5 separate regions of the Homo sapiens genome follow, and all the other regions are linked to region 5. Evidence: promoter capture Hi-C in human tissues and cell types (Jung and others, 2019). All regions are on one chromosome and are shown on one strand. Each heading gives the region's core, a stretch centred on a gene start or on the middle of the fragment in contact. The rest is flanking DNA. Distances are from core to core; before and after follow the strand shown. Region 1 overlaps FAM227A (family with sequence similarity 227 member A). Region 2 holds the start of FAM227A (family with sequence similarity 227 member A). Region 3 overlaps JOSD1 (Josephin domain containing 1). Region 4 overlaps DMC1 (DNA meiotic recombinase 1). Region 5 holds the start of TMEM184B (transmembrane protein 184B).

Region 1 (4,062 bases), core at 212-2,711, 330 kb after region 5:
ATCTCTTTACCCAAAGGAATGGTATGTCACTATTAAAATGTTTATGAAGAGTTGATAACCTAAAAAAGGTTTCAGGTATAATAGTAAATTTTTAAATACTGAGATGCAAAGTTTGATAGTGTTTTTTATATGTGTGTGTGTATGTGTATGTATGTATATATATATATATATAATTTTATTTTATTTTTGAGACTTGGGTCTCAATCTATCGCCCAGGCTGGAGTGCAGTGGCACAATCTCAGCTCACTGCAACCTCCATCTCCTAGATTCAAGCAATTCTCCTATCTCAGCCTCCCGAGTAGCTGGGATTACAGGGGCCCACCAGCCACCATGCCCAGCTAATTTTTGTATTTTTAGTAGAGACAGGGTTTCACCACGTTGGCCAGGCTGGTCTCAAACTCCTGACCTCAGGTAATCTGCCCGCCTTGGCCTCCCAAAGTGCTTGGATTATAGGCATGAGCCATCATGCCCAGCCGATAGTGTTATATATTTTATAGAAAATAATTTAGTAAAAGCCAGGTGCGGTAGCTCACACCTGTAATCCCAGCACTTTGGGAGGCCGAAGCAGATCGCAAGATCAAGAGATTGAGACCATCCTAGCCAACATGGTAAAACCCTGTCTCTACTAAAAATACAAAAATTAGCTGGGCTTGGTGGCATGCGCCTGTAGTCCCAGCTACTCAGGAGGCTGAGGCAGGAGAATCACTTGAATCTGGGAGGCGGAGGTTGCAGTGAGCCGAGATTGCACCATTGCGCTCCAGCCTGGCGACAGAGTGAGACTCCGTCTCAAAAAAAAAAAAAAAGAAAATTATTTAGTAAAAAACAGATAGATGAGAGACTGGAAGGCTCTTACCAAAACGTTAATAATTCATTCAGCAAATATGTATTGAGTGATTACTATGTATAAATACTATTTTAGGTGCTGGAGATTCAGCAGAGAACAAGACAAATTCCAGCCCTTATGGAGTTTACATTACAGTTGGAAGAAAACAATGAAAAAAATCAACAAATAAAGGAATAACATGATATGATGAATACTAATAAGATCAATCAGGCCAGGGTATGGAGAGTGGTAGGGAGGAGAGGACTGGGGTTCCATGGCGTGATCAGGGAAGGCTGTGAGGAGGTGAGACCCCAGGGATCCTGAATGCTGTGGGGAAGGGAGCCATGGGAAGGTCTATCAGGAGTTGTTCCTGGCTAAGAGGACAGCAGGTGCAACAGATCCAGCCACTGATATGTGCTTGGTGTGGCTGAGGGGCAGAAATGAGGTGGCTCACAGGGGTGGGGGCGGGTGCAGAGGGAGCAGGTGCTGTGGTCATGGTGAGGAGCTGGGATATTTTTCTAAGGGTCATGGAAGCCACTGGCAGATTCTGAGCTGGGGTACAATATAATCTGAGTAATCTGTTAAGGTCTCTTTGACTGATGGGAGGAGAAATGACTGTGAGGGTAAGAATGGGTGCAGAAGAGCAGTCAGGAGGCCCCTGCAGGAGTTGGGGAATTGCTGATGGGGCCCAGGACTTGGTGATTGCAGACAAGGGGTGAGAAGTGAGCAAATTTACAACATATGATAAAGGAGAACTGGCAAGATTTGCTGATGGACTCAACTCTACGTAGGTGTGAGAAAGAGAAGAGTCTAGGGCGGCTCAGAGGACTTGGGTGTCAGCTGCTCAGGTGGGACAATCTGGGGAGGAACAGGCTGGGGCGGTGGGAAAGTCAAGTCCCGTTTTGGATGCTATTTGAGATGCTAATAGACAGCCAGGAGGAAACAGATCAGAAAGAGAACAGGCTGGGGCCAAGAATGGTTTGTTTTCTTCTGCCTTTTTCCAAAAATGACAATACTGCTTTTGTGTTTAAAAAAAAATACATTTTATTTTGAAGAAGCAGTTATACCTTAATGGAACAAAAATTCCACTTCACAAATAAAGGCTGCAGCAGTACCCAATCACACTATTTTCTAATCCTGTTCTAATGGGATAGGGTTGCATTTAATTAATTGTCTAATGGGATTTCTTCTGTCTCCAGCAAGGTTTCTCAACTTCAGCACTACTGACATTTGGGGCTGGATATTTCTTTGTTGTGGGAGGCTCTCCTGTGCACTGTAGGATGCTGAGGAGCATCCCTGGCCTCCCCCAATGTCCCCCTGCCCCCAGTTCTAACAACTAGAAATGTCTTCAGAGCTGGCCAAATGTCTCCCAGAGGACAAAATTGCCCCAGTTGAGAACCACTATTCTAACAGCAAGATACCACTGGAATCACAGAAACCTGGAGTTAGCAGGGAATTTATAGATCATTTGGTCCAGTGATTCTGACATGCTGTCTCCTAATGGAGGCCATGCTGTGTCCAGTGGTCACCAGGGAAATGAGTGAAACAAGGAAAAATCTACACGACTCTAAGTAAATTGATTCACTTCAAAGACCTTTTTAAATTTTTTCATTTGTGATATTAATGACTTTCTTTTATAAAATGCTACTGACGACAGACAGCAGTCATTTTGTTTTAATGAATTTACTTAGTAAAAAAATAAATTTTTTTTCAAAGCCTACGAAAGTCCAGCATCTGGGATCCACTAATGCAGTGCAAGGTTTCTCTGAGGGTGATTCTTTGGCAACCCAGCGTCCTTCCCCTTTCCTAACAGCCCCTGACTCTGGTGTGTTTTTGAGGGGGAGATCTGGCCTCTACTGCATTTGGGCTTGAAGTTTTGCTTTTTGTTGTTGTTGTTGTTGTTTTTGAGATGGAGTCTCACTCTGTCGCCCAGGCTGGAGTGCAGTGACGCAATCTCTGCTCACTGCAACCTCCGCCTCCTGGGTTCAAGCAATTCTCCTGCCTCAGCCTCCCGAGTAGCTGGGATTACAGGCACCTGCCACCATGCCTGGATAATTTTTGTATTTTTAGTAGAGGTGGGGTTTCGCCATGTTGGCAAGGCTGGTCTCGAACTCCTGACCTTAGGTGATCTGCCCACCTCGACCTCCCAAAGTGTTTGGATTACAGGTGTGAGCCACCATACCCAGCCAACTAATATTAATTTTAAAATTATTTGCATTACTGTGGGCTGGGAGCAGTGGCTCACGCCTGTAATCCCTTTGGGAGGCCAAGGTGGGCTGATCATTTGAGGTTAGGAGTTTGAGACCCGCCTGACCAACACGGCAAAACCCCATCTCTACTAAAGATACAAAAATTAGCTGGGCGTGGTGGCACACACCTGTAATCCCAACTACTTGGGAGGCTGAGGCAGGAGAATAGCTTGAACCCAGGAGGTAGAAGTTGCAGTGAGCCAAGATCGCACCACTGCACTCCAGCCTGGGCAACAGAGTGAGACTCCGTCTCAAAAAAAAAAAAAAAAATTATTTGCATTCCTGTGGTATGGGCACCCCTCTCCTCATCTCTTTAAACTTCAGTAAAGTCTTCCATTCTTCCATATACACAAATACATGCACACAGAGGCCTTCTGTGAGTGGTTTTTGTAAAAATCAGAAGAGTTCCACATTCGGGCTGATGCAGTTAGTATGTGCATAGTGTATGCAGGACAGACAAGGAGCTTAGTGCCAGGAAAACATCAGGCCCCCAGAGGTCACAAACATATTTGAGAGGGTACTAGACTTCAAACAAATTAGATAACAAATGCTTAAGCCAATTTTTAGCTAAATTCCAAGGAATAGAGTGACCCCTGGTGATACTGGGGGGTTATGTGAGTAAAGATTTTATTGAGAATAGGTAATAATATAAAATATTGGGAAAAAATTGGGGAAGATGTTTTATATAATCTTAGAATGGTAAAATGCTTAGCAACAAATGAAATCTAAAAGCCATAAGAGACTACTAAATATGACTATAATAATTAAAAACTTCTAAGGTAAAACACCACGATTAAAGTCAAAAGATTAGCCCAGGGGTGGTGGCTCATGCCTGTAATCCCAGCACTTTGGGAGGCCGAAGGGGGCGGATCACCTGAGATCGCGAGTTCGAGACCAGCCTGGCCAACATGGTGAAACCCCGTCTCTATTAAAAATACAAAAATTAGCCGGGTGTGGTGGCACACGCCTGTAGTCCCAGCTACTGGGGAG
Region 2 (3,542 bases), core at 568-3,067, 380 kb after region 5:
GGAGGTGGGGATGATGTCACTGCACTCCAGCCTGGGTGACAGAATGAGACCCTGTCTCAAAAAAATAAACAAAAGGCTGGGCGCGGTGGCTCACGCCTGTAATCCCAGCACTTTGGGAGGCCGAGGCAGGCGGATCATGAGGTCAGGAGATCGAGACCACCCTGGCTAACATGGTGAAACCCCATCTCTACTAAAAATACCAAAAAAAAAAAAAAAAAAAAAAATTAGCTGGGCTTGGTGGCGGGCGCCTGTAATCCCAGCTATTCGAGAGGCTGAGGCAGGACAATGGCATGAACCCAGGAGGCGGAGCTTGCAGTGAGCTGAGATTGTACCACTGCACACTCCAGCCTAGGCGACAGTGCGAGACTCCATCTAAAATAAATAAATAAATAAATAAATAAATACCAAAAAAAAAATTAGCCTGGCATGGTGGCGGGCGCCTGTAGTCCCAGCTACTTGGGAGGCGGAGGCAGGAGAATGGCGTGAACCCAGGAGTCGGAGGTTGCAGTGAGCCAAGATCATGCCACTGCACTCCAGCCTGGGCGACAGAGCGAGACTCTGTCTCGAAAAAAAAAAAAAGTAAAATTTTTTTAAAGTAAAGCAATAAAAGAATGGCTACTCCATAGATAGAACAGCCAAGAGTAAAATTTTAATTTTAATTAATTCAAATTTTGGCCAGGCGCAGTGGCCCGCACCTGTAATACCAGCACTTTGGGAGGCCGAGTCAAGCAGATCACCTGAGGTCAGGAGTTCGAGACCAGCCTGGCCAACATGGTGAAACGCCATCTCTACTAAAAATACAAAAAATTAGCCGGGCATGGTGGTGGGTGCCTGTAATTCCAGCTACTTGGGAGGTGAACACAGCAGAATCGCTTGAACCCGGGAGGCCGAGATCATGCCACTGCAATCCCAGCCTGGGCAACAGAGTGAGACTCTGTCTTAAAAAAAAAAAAAATTAAATTTTTAAATGGAAGCAGTGCAAATTTAGAAATACTGATTATATCTTGAAATAGTAATGTTTTGGACATATGGAGTTTAAAACATTACTCAAATTAATTTCACTTGGCTTTCTTTTTTACTTTTTAAAAAATGTGGCTACTAGAAAATTCCAAATCACATATGTGGCCTGCTTTATGTTTCTATTGCACAATGCTAAGCCAGATTGTGAAGATTTTAGTTCTAGGACATGGAAGTCTCCCCTCTTTTAATGCAGGGTGGTGTAGTTGGAAGAGAACTGCGCTTGGAGTCAAAGACCCCTGGGTCCTGCCCCTCACTGGATGCCCTGATACACCCACTAGGCAGCCGGTAAACTCCTTGAACGGCCTAAGTTTCTGCACTTATCAGACGGAACCAATAACACACGCTTTTAGGACTCTAGGAGATCTGGAGTTGATTCTCCAGTAGTTCTCTGTCCCTTCCTCACAATGCAACCTTTAAGTAGTCCCTGGGCCTCAGCTTCCCTTGCTTGTAGAAGCCGCCATAACGGCACGGGGAGGGGGCAGGCTGCCAGAGGTGGGTCATGGTGCGTCTGTCCGTCCGTCTTACCTGAAAGCATCGGCGGAATTTGACGAACCCGGGGCCGGTCCCGCCACGGGTCCCTCAGGGGACCCCGCAAAGTTCTGGGTCGGCCCCCGACAGCCGGTGCCCCCAAACTCACAGCAAGGGGTGCCCTTTGCCTTGTGCTGGGGGATGAGGAGGGGAGTTGGGGAGAGGCCCATTTTGCTACTCTGAGTCCAGGCGTTCTCTAGGCAACGCCGGCGCGGTCTCCACTTTCCCGTTTAGCATAACAATGGAACCTTCGTGAGCCGCCGCGTTGTCCGCGAGATGCCGTTTCTATGGTGACAGCCGGGCCGGGGGCCCAGACCAATGTGTCAGTGGAGAGGGTGAATGCAGGTCCTGGTCCTAGAGGCATGAAAAGGACCCCAGAAGACACTGCCTTTGTATAATCCGTTTGCTATCCCGAGGTGATTCACGGAGTTTCTGGGGATTGGCGCAGGCTGGCGCTGGGAACCCCCGCGCCGGTTACCCCTTTCCTCGGTGGTAGAGGCCGGGCGGGGCAGCGCATGCGCGTGGCGGGCAGGCGGCAGGAGGCGGGTGGGTCAAGGTAACTCTGGGCTACAGAGTCCTTGCTGGGGGTTCGGGGAGCGCTTGGACCCCGGCTTCTGGGACGCGTCAGGTACGTCTCCGAGTCCGGCGTCGCCGGCCAGCGCTGCCTGGGTTCACTCGGGGGCCCGAGCTGAGTAGGACGTCCGGGCCTCGCCTGGAGAGAGGCTTCAGGAGGGCCTGGGGAAGGGGACGGAGGCCGGGCGACCCCGGGCGGTGGCCGCCCTCCTCTGTGTGTCTCCGCGGTTGTGAATTGGGGCGGTAATTCCTCCCCGTAGGTCGCCGTGAAGATGATTGCATGAGATCGTGCGTGTGAACGTTTGTTGACAGCTGTTACTTGAGTCCGACAGCCCTGGGGGCCGTGCATCTGCGTAACATGGCTACCTCTGAACTCCTTGGGGGACACGTATATCTTTGAGAATCCGATGAAAACCAGAGATTCCGCCCTTGTTTTCTTAGAATTAAAGTAAGATAATATATTTTATGGCCTGTTGCAAACGGAAAACCTTTACACAATGATTAGTGATTAGTATCAGTATCTGTGGACTGGGAAGGCTCTACTTACTCGATCCTCTTCCCAGGGTCGTTGTGAGGATCAAGTGCACAGCTTCCTATAAACACTAAAACACTATAACATCTTGTGAGCCAGGTACTATTATTATTCCTCAGTGCAAAGAAAGAAGCCGAAGTCCAAGGGGGATAAATGCTGGGGTCCCACTGTGGGTGAGCCGCAGAGTGATCATTGGAAGCCAGGTGCTCCCCCTTCACTTCCTGTGTGCGGAGCACGCTCGCCCTGGGAGTTTCACTAGAAAGAAGGTTGCCATGGGCCAGTGGGACAGCTTGTATCTCAAGTGCACGCGGATGCCCCAGAATCCCAGGATCTCAGCTGAGCTGTTTGTGGATTATTAGATCTGACTTAAAAGGTAGCTAATCCAGACCCTTCCTCATCTGTAATACATGGATGACAGCTCCCAGCTGTAGTGTTATGAGAATTAGTGCGGTCATGAGTAAGGTGCCCAGTTAAAGCCCGAGAAGTAAAGCAGCTGGGCCAAGGTCTAGCAGGCAACTGAAGGGGAGAGCCAGGCCCCTAAACTTGTTGTGTCCAGCCCATGTGCTCAGGCCCAGTGCAGTTAGCATCAGTGGGGACTTGACTTATTTCTCCTTCTTCAAATGTCTCTAGATTTTAGGCATGCTGGGGGCTGCTTCTTAACTGTGTTTTGTTTATTTTGTTCATAAGTAATACATGAATATATTCTCATTGTAATAATTCATTAAATCTCGAGTATATTTAATATAATTTTATATTGTACCATATGAAATTGTCACAATTTGACCTTTTTTTAACCTATAAAATGACAAGTTCATTCAAGTCAGTCATCCTATTCCCTTTTTCAGGTTTAACCACTATGAACAGTTTGGTGTATCCTTCCAGATCTCTT
Region 3 (3,714 bases), core at 156-2,655, 420 kb after region 5:
CCCAGGAACAAAACACTGAGTAGTTCTTATAACAGTCCACACGTCTGTCCTATTGCACTGTCAGATCTGAAGGGGAAAAACTTGATGAGATGTTTGGGGAAGTGGCAAGGGCAGACCCACTGTAGAGGCCACAGCACGTCACAGAGGACTGAAGGGGCTGAGGCGAGAGGGAGGTTGGGCAGAACTGTTACACATCGGTCCTCCAACTCTGATGAGCCTCTACCTCTTCTGGTACCACCAGCAGGAGTTCACAGTTCTTTCCTCGCAAATGATGTTTTAGAAACTTCCTATGGAAAAAGAGATAGAGAAAATGAAATGCTGGCAAGTTGCAAATTCCAGTCTCAGGACCACAAAGTCACCTGAAACCTCACTCTACCCTCGGCAGTCCAAAACACATCCCTGTAGTCATCTGGTTTTGGAGGGTTCCACATTTGGTTACCCTCCAATCTGTCCAGTTAAAATTCCAACCTGAATTTTGCTCATCCTTGTAGTTACTGCCAAGAGTAGCTGGATCTGTGAATAACAGTACCCAAAGTATATAAAGGACTTTTTCTTGGTTTGTTTGGAGACGGAGTTTCGCTCTTGTCGCCTGGGCTGGAGTGCAATGGCATGATCTCGGCTCACTGCAACCTCTGCCTCCCAGGTTCAAGTGATTCTCCTGCCTCAGCCTCCTGACCAGCTGGGATTACAGGCGTCCGCCACCACGCCTGGCTAATTTTTGTATTTTTAGTAGAGACAGAGTTTCACCGTGTTGGTCAGGCTGGTCTCGAACTCCTGACCTCAGGTGATCCACCCGCCTTGGCCTCCCAAAGTGCTGAGATTACAGGCGTGAGCAATCGCCTCTAAAGAACTTTTACAAATGTTCTTTGGTCCTGGGGAAATTCAGTGCTCCCTGGCCTGCATGTTTGTCTTCCTTTCTATGAACTGGCAACTACACTGTCTCAGTTGTCTTAAATAGAGAGAACGTTACAATGCCAGCCCCACCAGACTAGAAGGCTGGTATCCCAGGCTGGGCATCTTCCCTACCAAAAGGACTTAAAAGTACTGATGCGCCATTGAAGATTAAGGTCAGGTCCGAGACACTATGATTCTAAGGCAGGGAGAGAATCCAAGGGCACAGGAATTTCATTTCCTTTGTCAAATAACCAGAGATGAGCTCAGTGTCCCCAACCTAAGAAATGAAGCAGCCTAGCAACTTAGTCACAAAAGGTGCCGATTACCTGAGCTCGCTCTCGCCTCCAATCCACTCGGGCATCTTGAGTTTGGAGTCGAGGTTGTAGTAGGCCCCTCCCACCTCTCGAACACAGATCCAGTGCTGCCTTTTGAGGGGCAGTTTCAGTGGACCCCAGCATAGGCTGGAGGGCAGATTCATGATGAAGCCCATGACGTTAGTGAGGGCAATGACACCGACATCCCTGCAGGGGAGAAATGGTGGCAGGCTCTGATGCAGCCCATTTTCCAAGGTTCCCTGGCTGTAATACCACAACTGGCTACCTCCCCACTCATGCCATGAGCCCAAGTACTAAAAGCTTATACCACAACCGTGCTGTTCTCCATCAAGTCAAGCCTGATTCAGATTACCTGCGCTTGTCCCACCAAACAGCTTCATAGCCTTTGGTCTGAAGTGCTGCCATAATGACATTCACATCGTAGTTGCCATTTCCCAGCATGCTCTTCTTGTGAGGTGTCACCATGGTGTTTGGAGACAACCTACCAATGTGAAAAGAGGAGGGCTGAGACTTGCTGGATGCCTGAACCCCCTGACCCCGCACTACCAGGGATGGAGAGCACTTTACATCACTGCCCCTGGAAGTTAGTTTCCCCACATTCAAGTGCAATTTCCCCAGCTTCTACCTAAGTATTTTGTAAGTGTTCCATGAAGGTGACTCACTTATGAAATCCCAGCCTCCTGCAGCCTTTCTGCTCTTCCTCCTGATACTGATTTTCCTGCCTCATGCAAGCCTTTTTTTTTTTTAACATTGGAAAATAGGATTCAATCTTTTCATTTGCATGGATAGTAACTGGTGTCACTCCTGCTTTCTAGTTAAGGCCTGCAAACTTGGTAATCATTAATCATTAAATACTCAAAGGCATACAGGAGCCTAGACAGGTGACATAAATGTATAAACTGGGGTTGGATATAAGGCAATAAAAAGTAGTGAGGCCTACTGGAATGCACGACCCACCTAAAGGCATTCTGTGTGTGTGTGTGTGTGTGTGTGTGTGTGTGTGTAGTACTTGAATAAATTTTTCTTAAAATACCCAATAAATCAACTGAAAAAAAATTTGTGCCAGGCAAACAAAACTCAGCTGCAGCACTGGTTTGCCCACCCAGCTTGAAGCCATTTACTTCCAGGTTTCTTTAGCCAGTCTGTATTTTAAGACAAGGTCCATGCTGAAGGCATTTCTAATTCTATTATTTTACCTTCATAAACTTGTCAGGCCAGGAGCTGGGGAAAGGCCATTTTGAAGGAAGGGTTCAAGGGGCATACCTTTGGGCTTCGTGTGAAGGGGAGAAAGGGAAGTGTGGCGAGTTCCTCAGGACATAAAGTGCATGATCAAGAGGCTACTACATGCCATCTCCAGAAAAGAATCAAGACGTTAGGCCAAGGATGTCAACTCTAAAAAACTTAAGAAATCTTGTATTTTTAAAATTTTTCTGTGCACAGCAGAAATACTGGTATTTTTTTTCTTTCTTTTTTTTTTGAGTCGGAGTCTTGCTCTGTCGCCCAGGCTGGAGTGTGATGGCGCGATCTCAGCCCACTGCAACCTCCGTCTCCTGCGTTCAAGTGATTCTCTTGCCTTAGCCTCCCAAGTAGCTGGGATTACAGGCACCCGCCACCACGCCCACCTAATTTTTGTATTTTTAGTTGAGATGGGGTTTCACTACGTTGGCCAGGCTGGTTGGTCTCGAACTCCTAACCTTGTGATCCACCCGCCTCAGCCTCCCAAAGTGCTGGGATTACAGGTGTGAGCCACTGAACTCAGCAATACTGGTATTTTTCAAATATAAAACATACTCCTGGCCAGGCGCGGTGGCTCATGCTTGTAATTCCGGCACTCTGGGAGGCTGAGGTGGGCAGATCACTTGAGGTCAGGAGTTCAAGACCAGCCTGGGTAACATGGTGAAACCCCGTCTCTACTAAAAATACAAAAATTAGCCAGGCGTGGTGGTGCACGCCTGTAGTCTCAACTACTCAGGAGACTGAGGCAGCTAACTGCTTGAACGTAGGAGGCAGAGGCTGCAGTGAGCCGAACATAGGAGGCAGAGGCTGGATGTCACCACTGCATCCAGCCTGGGTGACAGAGTGAGACTCCGTCTCAAAAAACAAACCAACAAACAAAACAAAACAAAACCCCATGCTCCTGGCCGGGAGTGGTGGCTCACACCTGCAATCCCAGCACTTTGGGAGGCCAAGGTGGGAGTATCGCTTGAGCCTGGGAGTTAGAGACCAGCTTGGGCAACATGGCAAAACACTGTCTCTGCAAAAAATACAAAAATTAGGCGGGCATGGTGGCATGTGCCTATGGTCCCAGCTACTCGGGAGGCTGAGGTGGGAAGATCACCTGAGCCAGGGAAGTCAAGGCTGTGGTGAGCCATGACTGCACTCCAGCCTGGGTGATAGAGTAAGACCCTGTCTCAAAAAAAAAGAAAAAAAAAAAAAACCCACAGAATTAAAAACAACAAACATACTCCTGCCACTGCTTAAAACC
Region 4 (3,603 bases), core at 638-3,137, 290 kb after region 5:
TATTAAAGAAAGCTTTATTTGTCCCTCTTCTTCCTGAGAAAAATTACCCTGGAAAGCTATACCTCTGGAAAATCCCAGACAAAATTCCTGGTTGATATGTAATCTCAATCAGCTGAAAAGGTAACCCCAAAATTTACCTGTGAGGATACCCCAAATTATTTGGGATAGCACAATTGTTTCCTTTTTGAGACTCAGGAAAATTTAGAATTAAGTGTAGAAATAGTGTTTTTAAATATAGGGAGATTTAAAAATAGAGACACAAATCAAACCCATAGATTACTATTTTCATATTAAATTTGGCAATATGGGCATGGTGGCTCATGTCTGTAATCTTAGCACTTTGGGAGGCCGAGGGAGGTGGATCGCTCGAGCCTGGGAGTTCAAGACCAGCCTGGATAACATGGCGAAACCCAGTCTCTACAGAAAATACCAAAATTAGCCAGGTATGCTGGCCTGTGCCTGCAGTCCCATCTACTCAGGCTGCAGTGAGCCGTGATGGAGCCACTGCATTTTAGCCTGGGTGACAGAGTGAGACCGTGTCTCAAAAAATAAAATAGAATATAAATAAATAAATTTGGTAATAACCTGTGCATATTTGCTATTTGAGACCTTTTAACGTTTAAGATAATTTGACCTTTTTGTAATGGATTGGCCTCTGACTGATTAAATGGTACATTCCTTCAATTTTCAAGTTGATAACTAATTTTATAAATAGTATTTGAACATTTAATGGTGCCTACAACTCACTATACTTCTAAATTTATTTGAGTTACAAAAGATATTTAGGTAATTGGGAAGATTTTGCTGTTAATAATTAGATAATTAGACAAAGTTCTTTTTTTTTTTTTTTTTTTTTTTTGAGACGGAGTCTCACTCTGTCGCCCAGGCTGGAATGCAGTGGCGTGATCTTGGCTCACTGCAACCTCTGCCTCCTGGATTCAAGCAATTCTCTGCATCAGCCTCCTGAGTAGCTGGGATTACAGGCACCCGCCACCATGCCCGGCTAATTTTTGTATTTTTAGTAGAGACAGGGTGATCCTGTCTTTAGTAGAGACCTTGTGATCCACCCGCCTCAGCCTCCCAAAGTGTTGGGATTACAGGTGTGAGCCAGTGCACCTGGCCAACAAATAAAGTTCTTAAAGAAAATACAATACACTAAATGTATAAACATAATTAAAATGTTTAAGAGAATTTAATCTTGTTATAAAAGCACCCTTAAAATGTGCTAGATTTATAAAGGGACTTAAAGCTTAAGGAAAAATGTATAATATTTTAATTAATTAAATATTAATTTTTAAAAACCTAGCTCCTGGCTGGGCGCAGTGGCTCACATCTGTAATCCCAGTACTTTGGGAGGCCGAGGCAAGTGGATCATCTGAGGTCAGGAGTTCGAGGCCAGCCTGGCCAACATGGTGAAACTCTGTCTCTACTAAAAATACAAAAATTAGCCCGGTGTGGTGGCACACACCTGTAGTCCCAGCTACTCAGGAGGCTGAGGCAGGAGAATTGCTTGAACCCAGGAGGCGGAGGTTGCAGTGAGCCGAGATCATGCCACTGCACTCCAGCCTGGGCGACACAGCAAGACTCTGTCTCAAAAGCAAACAAACAACAAAAAAAAACCTAGCTCCTGAATGATCTTTTCTGTTCTCAAGAGCAAACATCAAGGGCACCAGAAAACTCACAATAACAGTAATTATTTCTTTAGCCCAGTGGTTCTTAGACCACCATGTGGTAGAGTAACTAAAGAAAATCAGATTGTCATTTGAATCAAGTGTTTTGTTGATCAACCTCATTTTGACCAATTTGCCTAGGGGTAGGATTTCTCCAAGCCTCTTCCTTAACTTTACTTGAAAAAAGGGTATGTGATTTTAAAAGTCTGGGACAATGCTGGGTTAAACAGGTATTTTCTTTTTCTTTTTTTCTTTTGAGACTGAGTCTCACTCTATTGCCCAGGCTGGAGTGCAGTGGCACGATCTCGGCTCACCACAACCTCCATCTCCCAGGTTCAAGCGATTCTCCTGCCTCAGCCTCCCGAGTAGCTGTGACCACAGGCACATGCCACCATGCCCGGCTAATTTTTTGTATTTTTAGTAGAGACGGGGTTTCTCCATGTTGGTTAGGCTGGTCTCGAACTCCTGATCTCAAGTGATCCACCCGCCTCGGCCTCCCAAAACGCTGGGATTAAAGGTGTGAGCCACCGTGCCCAGCCATTTTTTTGGTAATTTTTAGTAGAGACAGGGTTTCACCATGTTGGCCAGGCTGGTCTAGAACTCCTGACCTAAGGTGATCCACCCATCTTGGCCTCCCGAAGTGCTGTGATTACAGGTGTGGGCCACCGTGCCCTGCCAAAACAGGTGTTTTGTGTCACTGCAGGATTTCACAGGCTAGTGTGCGCTGTGACTCTTCAAGAAGAATATATAGTATATGGTACTTCTCAAACTTATTCACTATTTGTTTATTCATTCATTTAGTCATTCAACAAATATTTATTGCACACCTAGTTTATGCCAGGGATTGTTTTGTGCACTTGGGATAAACTAGAGAACAAAAGAGACAGAATTTTTTTCTCTCACGAAGTTTACAATCTAGTGAGAGATTAGATAATAAACACAAATAGGCCAGGCGCCGGTAGCTCACACCTGTAATCCCAGCACTTTGGGAGGCTGAAGCGGTGGATCATGGGATCAGGAGTTCAAGACCAGCCTGGCCAAGATGCTGAAACCCTGTCTCTACTAAAAGTACAAAAATTAGCCGGGCGTGGTGGCGGGCACCTGTAATCCCAGCTACTCGGGAGGCTGAGGCAGGTGAATCGCTTGAACCTGGGCAGCAGAGGTTGCAGTGAGCTGAGATCATGCCACTGCACTCCAGCCTGGGTGACAGAGCAAGACTCCGTCTGAAAAAAAAAATAAATAAATAAAATAAAAAATAAACACAAATAAGTAAAATATGTAGTACATCAGATGTTATTAAATGGTATGGATAAAAATAAGGCCAGGAAAGGGGACAAGGAAGACAGAGTATGAAAGTTAGGAGGTTATACTGTCAAATAAAGTGATCAGAGAAGTTCTCATTGAGACATGGACATTTTTGCCAAGACCTGAAAGAGATGACAGCAAGCCATGTAGATCTAAGAGGAAAGAATATGATAGGCAGAGGCAGCACAAAGTGCAAAGGCCCTGATGCAGGAGTGTATCTGACATATTCTGGGAATAGCAAAGAGGTCACTATGGCTGGTACATAGAAAACTAGAAAAGTGAAATATTAGAGATGGGAGAGGACTTTGGCTTCTTTTCTGAGTGAGAGGGGGAATCATCAGGGTGTTATGAGCCACTGCATTCCAGCCTAACCTATGTTTTAAAGTGACCATTCTGGCTCTTTAGTGAATTAAAAAAAAAAACAAAACAGTAGGGGCAAGGTCTCAAGGAGGGAGGTTAATTAGAGGTTATTATAATAATCCAGGGGAGATATTAATAGGTGGTAGTTTAGTCCAGTGAGGTAACAGTAGAGGTGGTAAGAAATAGTTGAATTATATTCTCACTCTCTATGTACACACACACATATACACATAAAAATAACATATATTATATATTAATCTTTTATTAT
Region 5 (3,766 bases), core at 642-3,141:
GAATTCACAGCGCCTTCTCCACCCACATTAGCTATTGGAGCCTCGTATCCAGATTGGGGTCACTAAATCAGTGTCCATCTTCCCAGCACTGGGAGCCCCTAGAAGGCAGGCACCAGGTCCCATTGATCATCAGACCGCTATGCCCCAGCATAGTGCCTGGCACATAGTAGATGCTCAGTAAGTTGCAAGACAAGATCTGGCAGCAAGAGAGAGGTCCTGGTTAAAGGATGATTCCATCCAGGCTTGCCACGTATCGTGGAGAAGAACGTCATGAATTCCCTCTGGGCCTCAGTTTACCGCATCTGCAAATAGGGACAACTGTTCCTTACTCACACAGCTGCTGTGCAAATTACACAGGAAAATATATGTGGAAAGCAGAAAAGCCTCAGATGAACGTCAGTCATCCTTCAGGCTTCAGCTCAACCGTCTCCTTATGAGGGAGTCTTTCCTGCGGCCACGATCCCCCTCCCCGGGAACTGAACCTGCCTCTGTACTCCTTCTACTCCTTTGTTTGGTATTTTTCACATCATCGTGATCACCTGTTTCCAAATCTGATTCCCCCATGCTTGAGAGCTCCTTGATGGCTTGGGCATCAAATGTTTCTGTCCAGGTGGGCACACATACCTGGCTGCTGGGGCTCTCCCACCCCAGCGTCCCAGGTCCCAACTCTGATACGCACAGCACCCTAGGCAAGGTTCAGAGGTGCAGAGCCTAGGGGTTCTACCAAGGAAGCTAAATAGGTAGATGGAAAGGGACACTGTAGGCATAACCTGTCAACGAAGTCACACCTCTGAGACCTGCGCTGCCTCTGCAGGTGCAGGTGAGCTTGTTTGCCTGGCTGACTCTGCAGCGCAGGGCCTCCAGGGCACAGATTGCTGCTTCTTTCCTTACAAAAGCACCAGCAGTCAGATAAATAATACATGGCCTTCACCTCACCACAGGTATCAGGCATGCAAATACCTGCTTTGCCCCAAAATGCCCTGGAAAGGAGGGAGGAGTAAAACGTCTGGCCTTATACAACACCTCCAGAGGGGATATGTATTGGGAATCCATGCCCAACCCCCAGCATAACTGCCTTGCCTTGGCCTGGAGCCACCCAGCACTGGAGGTAAGTGGATCCAAGCGAGGTACCAAGGGTGTGCCCAGGAGGAAATGTACAATTCACGGGAAGGATACAGACACCCAAAACCAGTCTCCACGGTCCCTTTGGGGGCAAACATCTTTCGAGCCCCAGGTCCCAGTCGATCCCCTTCCAAACCTGCGGACCTGTGTGGCGGGCGTGTACACCCTCCACTCACGACGCAGCCCCGAAAGCCCCCCGCCGACCACCCTCCCAGGTCACTGCCACCCGCACAGGGCACGGACGCCTCCCCCACTCACTCGGCCGTGCCAGTCGCCAGCACACCCACCCGGGAGCACACAATCCCTCTTGCAAAGCGCCTTGGTCCATCCGCCTCCCTCTCCCGGGGCCGCCCCCCGGACAGGTCCGATTACACTCCAGGAGCTGCCCCCGCCACGTTGGCGTGGAAAGGGAGCGGGCACACCCACGGGCGACCTCGCGGGGCGGAGAGGAGGCACGGGTGGGGAGACGGATGCCCCCTCCCTCCGCGGCCGCACCGGCCTCCGTAGTGCCCTCCCCGCCCGGGAGCCGGCGGCCGAAGCCGGGCGTCCCTCGCGCGGGCCTCTCCGAAACAAGCAGCCCCCCGCGCTCGGGAGTCGCAGCTCCCCCTTGGGGCTCCCGGGCGAGGCCGGCCAGGCGGGATACCTCAGGAGCCCATGGCGGTGGCGGCGTCTGCGGACGATGCGCGGCAGCCGGACTCTGCGGGCGGGGCGGGCGGCGCCGCAGCCCCGGAGTCTCCGCCGCCGCCGGCGCGTCCCGGGCCCAGTGGAGTGCAGCCGCGGCGCGCATGCGCTCTGGGCTCGCCGCCGGGGAGGGCGGGGCGGCGGACGCGGCTGAGATCACTGCCTGGGCCTTAAAGGGGCCGCGCCCCGAACCCCAGCCCGCCGCCCCGAACCCCAGCCCGCCGCCCCGCGGGTTGGGGCGCGACCCGGGTTCTCTTGCCACTCACAAAACCAGCTACGACCGGCCCCCAACCGCGAGAGCTTTCTGGGCTGCGATCTCTGCCCCTGACCCTCGCTGGTGCTTCACTTCTTTTAACCCTAATTTCCTCCATTTGAGCCTGTTTTGAAGATGAAACGAAATACAATGGCTATTTGTTGAGTGAAGGATGCGTGTGGAATTGTGGAATGAACGTGGACCGAGTGTTGTGTGCAATTAGGCCAGATGAAATGGCAAAGCACTGAAAGAGGCCTTTTTTTCCCACTCCGCTTAGCAGCGATTCTTTCTTGCCCCGTCTGGCTCTAGGCTGCCGAACTAGCAAAAGTCTTCAGATAGGGTTCAAGCCGCCTAGTCCATTTCTGTTTGCCGGTCCAGACATCACCTAGGTTAACTGAACAAGATAAAATGCAATTAAGTTCTGGCATTGATGTGCTCAAGATCCCCAAATGTATTTATGTCTCCAGACTCCTCGCCTGAACTGTCTACCCAACACCTCTTCCTTGGAGCTCCAGCAGGCATCTCAAAGTCAGCGTGTCTGAGCTGAGCCAACCCCACTTCCACACACAAAAACCTGCTCCCTCTCAGCTTTGCCTCCATCAGCTGTTGACAATTCCATCCTTCCAGTCCCCAGGCCAGAACTCGGAGTCAGCTGTGAATGAATGCCCCCCTTCTGCCCGCTACCCAATAAGGCAGGCAGGAGATCCTGTTGGCTCTACCTGCAAAATAGATCTAGACTCAGATGTCTGCCACTCCTCCTCCAGTGCTACCACCCTGGTCCAGTATTTGCACAGGATTATTGCAGAGTTCTGCTAACCCCTCTCCCTTGTTCCAGCCTTGCCCTCTGATCCATTCTATCAATTCAGGGGTGAGGGAGATCCTTTTTTTTTTTTCTCTTTTTTCTTTTTGAGACAAAGTCTCGCTCTTTGTCTCAAAGTTGCCCAGGCTGGAGTGCAGTGGCGCGATCTCGGCTCACTGCAAGCTCCGCCTCCCGGGTTCACGCCATTCTCCTGCCTCAGCCTCCCGAGTAGCTGGGACTACAGGCGCCCGCCACCATGCCCAGCTAATTTTTTGTATTTTTAGTAGAGACGGGGTTTCACCGCGTTAGCCAGGATGGTCTTGATCTCCTGACCTTGTGATCCGCCTGCCTCGGCCTCCCAAAGTGCTGGGATTACAGGCGTGAGCCACCACGCCCAGCCAAGATTCTTTTAAAATCTGCCGGGCACGGTGGCTCACGCCTGTAATCCCAGCACTTTGTGAGGTCGGGTGGCTCATTTAAGGCCAGGAGTTACAGACCAGCCTGGCCAATATGGTGAAACCTTGTCTCTGCTAAAAATACAAAAATTAGCTGGGTGTGGTGGTACATGCCTGTAGTCCCAGCTACTCTGGAGGCATGAGAATTGCTTGAACCCGGGAGGCGGAGGTTGGGTTGTGGTGAGCCAAGATCGTGCCAATGCACACCAACCTGGGTGACAAAATGAGAATCTGTCTCAAAAAATAAAATAAAATCGAAGTCAAAACATGGTACTTTTTTGCTCAAAACCCTCCATTGGCTCACTGTTTCGCTCTAAGTAAAAGCCTTACAAGTCCTTACAAACACTTGATCTGACATTCTACTCTCCTGGGGATTCCTGATCTCATTCATCTCTTACCCTTTCCCTCCACACTGATCCCTTGCTGTTCCTAGAACAAGCTGAGCACACTCAGCCC

What was found. Contacts are between HindIII fragments. The study calls those that stand out against the background at their distance.
Region 1: a fragment that was not itself captured here is called in contact with the fragment with the promoter of TMEM184B in region 5 in 1 of the 25 tissues and cell types used here (spleen).
Region 2: the fragment with the promoter of FAM227A here is called in contact with the fragment with the promoter of TMEM184B in region 5 in 1 of the 25 tissues and cell types used here (mesenchymal stem cells).
Region 3: a fragment that was not itself captured here is called in contact with the fragment with the promoter of TMEM184B in region 5 in 1 of the 25 tissues and cell types used here (aorta).
Region 4: a fragment that was not itself captured here is called in contact with the fragment with the promoter of TMEM184B in region 5 in 4 of the 25 tissues and cell types used here (H1 embryonic stem cells, lymphoblastoid cells, psoas muscle and 1 more).

The regions. Positions count from the first base shown.
Region 1 is chr22:38,600,163-38,604,224 of GRCh38, forward strand. All of the region lies in intron 13 of FAM227A (family with sequence similarity 227 member A), which reads right to left. Among named protein-coding and RNA genes, the nearest start is that of DMC1, 32 kb to the left of the region's middle. The HindIII fragment of the contact is 9,989 bases long and covers 1-4,062 here.
Region 2 is chr22:38,654,575-38,658,116 of GRCh38, forward strand. It overlaps FAM227A (family with sequence similarity 227 member A), which reads right to left and starts at 1,818. Exons shown (of 17, transcript NM_001013647.2): 1 at 1,546-1,818. CBY1 (chibby 1, beta catenin antagonist) reads left to right here and starts at 2,064. Exons shown (of 5, transcript NM_015373.4): 1 at 2,064-2,176. The HindIII fragment of the contact is 5,432 bases long and covers 1-2,751 here.
Region 3 is chr22:38,687,715-38,691,428 of GRCh38, forward strand. It overlaps JOSD1 (Josephin domain containing 1), which reads right to left. Exons shown (of 5, transcript NM_001360236.2): 3 at 1,582-1,710; 4 at 1,221-1,415; 5 at 1-287. The coding sequence ends at 188. Among named protein-coding and RNA genes, the nearest start is that of TOMM22, 7.6 kb to the left of the region's middle. The HindIII fragment of the contact is 8,429 bases long and covers 1-3,714 here.
Region 4 is chr22:38,557,122-38,560,724 of GRCh38, forward strand. The region is part of intron 5 of DMC1 (DNA meiotic recombinase 1); the gene reads right to left. Among named protein-coding and RNA genes, the nearest start is that of DMC1, 11 kb to the right of the region's middle. The HindIII fragment of the contact is 5,518 bases long and covers 1-3,603 here.
Region 5 is chr22:38,271,119-38,274,884 of GRCh38, forward strand. TMEM184B (transmembrane protein 184B) reads right to left here and starts at 1,892. Exons shown (of 9, transcript NM_012264.5): 1 at 1,766-1,892. RefSeq lists an enhancer at 643-1,352 and a silencer at 1,415-2,044. The HindIII fragment of the contact is 18,337 bases long and covers 1-3,766 here.